2 separate regions of the Homo sapiens genome follow, and region 2 is linked to region 1. The links are contacts of gene promoters, found by promoter capture Hi-C in human tissues and cell types (Jung and others, 2019). All regions are on one chromosome and are shown on one strand. The core of a region is centred on a gene start or on the middle of the fragment in contact, and the rest is flanking DNA. Distances in the headings are between cores, read along the strand shown.

Region 1 (2,894 bases), core at 32-2,531:
AGACTCCAAGGTGTAAATATCCTCTTTAAATGTACCAGTAAGTAGACTAAGTCCTAGAAGAGTATAATTTTTTTTTTTTACAAATAAAGTTTATTGTACTGTTTGGGGGATGGTATATTTATTACTGCTAAAAAAATTACCATTTTGAATTGCTAATTGGCTATAACAAAGATCAGTAATACAAATTTAAAACATTCATAAAACTGAGCTGAAAACATGCTCCCAAGCCTAGTGGGCAGTAAGGAATCTGGCCAATATACTGTACAACTTGAACATTCAGTTCTTAAGTAGTTTACAACATGGTTTAGCCCTCTTTTAATAATAATAATAAAAAGGTAGGAATATCTTGTATTCCTCCCGCTAGTTGGATGTATTAAAGTGCTTTCACAAAACTAAGACCATGGTGTTAACTCAATATAAAAGGTTGAAAAGATGTTCCTTCTTTTCTTCAGAAAGTTAATGTTCCCTCTCCATATTTGTATTTGCTCAAAGATGAAGCTTTGCATCTGGGAAGTCCTTGAGTAGAGTGTCTCAGAAATAGAAAGCCTGGACTCTCAAGGCTTCATTCCTTTGGCCAACATCTTTGGAGCCTCTCCTTTATGCAAAACACAGTGGCCGGTGCCAGGGCAGCACACAAGCGTCCACAGGAGGCAGGCCCTGCTGTGAGGGGCCAGGGAAGGGCCCAACTAGGAGTGCCAACAACCGCCTAAAATACAGCAGGGCGGCTGCACGGTTAACGTGCGTGTAATTGACTACAGCAAGAAGGATGAGGATCTGTCCATAAATGCCAAGTTCCCCTTCCCGTCGAGTCCGTGTCCCCCATGAAGCCCCGGGTCTAGAGAGCTGGGTCTAGAACTCGCCATTCCGCCCTGAGGGTGTCAAGTGCAGCGTGGAGAGACCTGAGGGGGAAACAAAAAGGCCGAGACAGCCGAAAGGACCAAGCCCGCGCGACCCCCGAAGGCGCTGACGCACGTAGGGCGGCCGGGCGGGGGTCCCACAGGCCTTCAGCGCCGCTTTTTGCCGGGGAGGGAAGCCCGCGGTTCTGCGGACCGCGCCGTCGCGGTCGAGGGTCTGCGCCAGGCTCAGGGTAGGGCGAGGGTGTGTCGCCTCCCGTGCGGCTAGGCCCGGGGCTCGGGGGTGGCCTCGCGGCGAAGCCCCGCCCCCGGCACCGCCCCTCAGGCGCGCGAGCCGATCCCGCGCGCGCCAACCCTTTCCCGGGTCATCGCCCCTCCCCTCTTCCGGGCCGCGAGCCCCCTGCGCGCCGCTTTGGGGCTGCGCTCACTCGTGTGCGCGCTCGTCCGCCCGCCAGTCCTCTCAACGCGCGCTTGGCCGCCCGACGACGCGGGAGCCGCACGCGCCGGACGAGGCTCGCTGCGCTCCCTGTTGCCCAGCGCGGGCCCGTTGAGGCGGAGCCCTCAGTTCCCGGCCAGGACACGGTCTGGGCCGCCGAATCTCCGGCCGAAGAGCGGCGGCGGCAGCGGCGGTGAGGAGACCGGGCCGGGGAAAGGCAGACATGGCGGGGCTGTGGGTATCGGGGGAGGGTGGTCCCGTCGCCCCTGCGGCCACGTCGAAGGCTCGCTGGCGGGCGGCGCACCGGGGACAGGGGAGGGGCAGGGGATGGAACCAGGTTGCATGGGCTCCGGCTCGGCGCCAGAGCGGGGCTGCGGGCCGCGAGGGCGGCCCGCGAGGCTTTCCGCGGGACCCTCGGCGGGCGCCTGAGGAAAAAGACGCCGCCTCAGGGCTCCTGCCACGTTTCCCACAGCGCGTTACATTCCGCCTCCGGGTGGGCGACAACCCCGCGGCTTCCCACCCTCTGTCCACCCCCTTCGCGTCGGTGTTTTTTCTGGAGCTCCGCTTGTTTGCTGGAGAGTCGCGCCTCCGGGAAGCCGGGTCCTCGAACCCAGGGCCGCCCGCCGGGGACAGCGGACCCGCGGGGCAGGCGCACCCTGGCGAGGATGTTGTCGGGGAGGCTGGGCATTGGGCGCCAGGGCCCTTCCCCTTGAACTTGGGGAAAACCGGGATTGCAGAAGTTGGGCGCAGCTCAAGGCGGTTCTTTCAAGAGCGGGTGGAGATGTTTGATCCCTCCTCACCTACCTCTCTCAAAACCCCAGCGGGAGAGCCTAGCAGCAGGTTTCGATGGCTTCAGAAAGTCCAACTCTTAGCCCCTTGGAAAATTATTTCCCCTCTTCATGGCTTTGTGGCGCCGCTGAGGTCGGGCCGGGGCTCCTCACCCCACGGGCCAGTCTTCTCGCGCCCTCCACCTTGGGAACGTCTATCAGGAGAAAAATGTGTTCCTAGAAACGTTTGCGATTAGCTTTTCGTTACAAGGGAGGGAAAAGTACAAAAGTTATAAACTCCTGCGAGGCCGAGCTTGATTCTGGATTCCCTTTGGGTTTTATCCACGCAGCCGTGAGCAGAGGAGCCTTGTGGAACAAAGTAGAACTTGAGGAGCAGCCGCCGCGGTGACGAGGTCCCAGGATGACGTCACCGTGCGATATTTAAAATGGGAGCCTTTTGCTCTGAGTGTGGGTGGAGGACGCCTACTTACTCAAGACGCCTGAGGTCTTCTTGGCCCTGCTTGCCTCTGGTGGTTCTTGCCCTGACTGTAACTCTCCCTCTTTCACCTTTTGGTACTCCTAGAATACTGGTGGGAGTGGGCTTATTTTTCAGCTGTTCGAGCTATCATTTCTTCAAACGGGGAAAACAAAAGTCCAAATGAGTCATCTTGTGTTACAACCAAAAGCAACCACTAAGTGGTTCTTTCCTTCTTTTCTATTTTTTTATATGAAGCAGAGCAAACAGAAACAAATCCAGAACTCAGATATGTGGCACATAGTTGGCAAATGTAATGAATGAGGAGAAAGATCTAGTTAAAAGATTCAGTACATTTCTTT
Region 2 (2,700 bases), core at 94-2,593, 180 kb after region 1:
TATGGAACACATCACAAATTTGTGTGTCATCCTTGCACAGGAGCCACGCTAATCTCTGCACTGTTCCAATTTCCATATATGTGTGCCATGCTACATTAGTAGAGAGATCCCTACAATACTGTGGCTTAAGAAGAGAGATGTTAAAATTAGCTGGGCGTGGTGGCAGGCGCCTGTAATCCCAGCTGCTTAGGAGGCTGAGGGCAGAGAAATTGCTTGAACCGGGAGGCGGAGGTTGCAGTGAGCCAAGATCCTGCCACTGCACTCCAGCCTGGGTGACAGAACGAGACTCCGTCTCCCAAAAAAAAAAAAAAAAAAAAAAAAAGGAAGAGAGACATTTGTTTTTCTCTCCTGAAATAGTCCTCAGTGAAGCAGAACAGGGTAGGGTAGGATGGACAGCTCAGCCCATCCTCAAAATATGGCTTCTATCTCTGGATCTGTGAGGGCTGTTCTAGCTCCTGCCATTACATCTACATCCCAGACAGCAGGAATGGTCAAAGGAACAAGAAAATACACCCTTATTTCTTTTAAAGGCAAAGCTTGTTAAATAAAAGCACTTATATCCTATTGGCAAAAAGTTACATGGTCTTATCTGGTTGCAAAGATGCTGGGATAATATAATCTATAACTCAATGGTCCTGGGCACAGCTAAAACCTGGGGGTTTCAATATTTTTAAATTTTATTTTATTTTATTTTGAGATGGAGTTTCACTCTGTTGCCCAGCCTGGAGTGCAGTGGCGCAATCTCCGCTCACTGCAACCTCCACCTCCTGGGTTAAAGCGATTCTCCTGCCTCGGCCTCCTGAGTAGCTGGGATTACAGGAGCCCACCACCACACCCAGCTAATTTTTGTATTTTTAGTAGAGACGGGGTTTCACCATGTTGGCCAGACTGGTCTCGAACTCCTGACCTCAGGTGATCTGCCTGCCTTGGCCTCCCAAAGTGCTAGGATTACAAGAGCGAGCCACCACGCCTGGCTGGGGGTTTCATTATTAAAGAAGGAGGAGACTGACTAATATTGTTGTATGTCTTAGCTTGGGTTCTTGCAAAGTAGAGTCTAAGGCAAGGGACTTGGATGCAGGTAGTCTATCTGCATTTACCTATTGACTGATGATATTGATCCCAGGAAGCAGAAGTGAGGTGTGAGAAGAGAGAGACAAGGAAGTGAGAAAGCCTATAAAGTGTGTGCTACTCAGTTGGAAACCATTATGGAAAAATAAGGCCCACTTACACTCGGGATCAGCTGTGGAACTTCATAGACTGTGCTTCAGCATTGTTCCACTGAAGGACAAGGAGGCTGGGGCATTAATCTGCTGACTTCCATCCACTGTTACTTACTAACTCTCCTGCACTTCCAGGCTGTGGCCTGCTTGGGTGTCCCCAAGGGACACCACAGCACCCACTGAAGGTGGGGCACTTGCAGCATGCATGCCGCTGTTCACATTAGTGCCACTAATGTCAGGTGGGCCCAAGGGATGGGGCACAGGGCATCTTAGGCAGGTGCTTCTGGGTAGAACTAACCCTTTCATTTTCCATCCACACCCTGCAGTGAGCATAATGGAGCGTGTGTCCCAGAGTTGGGTGGGGACTGGGAGAATGTTTTTAAAGCACCTGAAGCAGATACTGGCATGTAGTACGTGCCCAGTAATGTTAGTTCTCTTTCCTTCCACTTCCCCTTTGTCACCTTAACACACCACCTTAACATCTTAACAATTAAATTTATCCTATTAACATAAAACATCCTCATTAAGTTCTTCAGCCTTTCTACAGATTTAATAACTTAAGCTTTCATACTAGGGGAAAATATCTGCACATCATAGTTTTTAATTTTTTTTTTTTTGAGACGGAGTCTCCCTCTGTCGCCCAGGCTGGAGGCAGCGGCGTGATCTCTGCTCACTGCAACCACCACCTCTCAGATTCAAGTGATTCTCCTGCCTCAGCCTCCCGAGTGGCTGGGACTACAGGCACGTGCCACCACGCCCAGCTAATTTTTTATATTTTTATTAGAGACAGGGTATTCACCATGTTAGCCAGGATGGTCTTGTTTCTTGACCTCGTGATCTGCCCACCTTGGCCTCCCAAAGTGCTGGGATTACAGGCGTGAGCCACCACGGCCCAGCCAATTTTTAAATTTAATATGAAATATTTATTTCAGATTTTGTGGCCAACTAATGGCTGCACTAGACAGATGCAAAGGTAAAGTGTGTAATAGGATTACCTGAATGAAAGTCTGTATCCATAATGAGAAGACAATCTTATATGCTCTTTAATGCCTCTATTATACCCATAACTGAGAAATTTAACAATTAAAAACAATGTGCCAGGGCTTCACGAAGTCTCTGTAGGTGCATAGGCGCCGGCATAAGAGGTGGCTGCCAAGTCACATTCATTCATAAATTCTCCAAGCGTGCCTATATGAGAACAACACTGTTCTAGAGGTTGTGATTAAGATACGGTCCCTGCAAATGTCAATTTGATAGTCTGTAGGAATGGGGGAATGATTAACCACAGGAGGATAACTACAGGTGCTATAAGTCCTTATGTCACTGAAAGGTTTGGATAGAAGTGGACAGTTGGGCTCAGGTGGAGAATGAAAGAAAGAATTGAGTGATATGTAATGATTGTGTTTATCAGCTAAACAAAATGTTCACAGAGTCTTCAAGTATCTTCTTACAGGTGAATTATTTTAAATTTTATTTTAAA

Evidence for each region. Contacts are between HindIII fragments. The study calls those that stand out against the background at their distance.
Region 2: a fragment that was not itself captured here is called in contact with the fragment with the promoter of BTG3 in region 1 in 1 of the 25 tissues and cell types used here (dorsolateral prefrontal cortex).

Annotation. Positions count from the first base shown.
Region 1 is chr21:17,611,288-17,614,181 of GRCh38, reverse strand. BTG3 (BTG anti-proliferation factor 3) reads left to right here and starts at 1,281. Exons shown (of 5, transcript NM_006806.5): 1 at 1,281-1,483. It overlaps BTG3-AS1 (BTG3 antisense RNA 1), which reads right to left and starts at 2,496. Exons shown (of 1, transcript NR_149073.1): 1 at 68-2,496. It also overlaps a transcript of CXADR not described here. The HindIII fragment of the contact is 18,267 bases long and covers 1-2,894 here.
Region 2 is chr21:17,428,943-17,431,642 of GRCh38, reverse strand. It overlaps the pseudogene RNU6-113P. Among named protein-coding and RNA genes, the nearest start is that of LINC01549, 8.6 kb to the left of the region's middle. The HindIII fragment of the contact is 3,348 bases long and covers 1-2,700 here.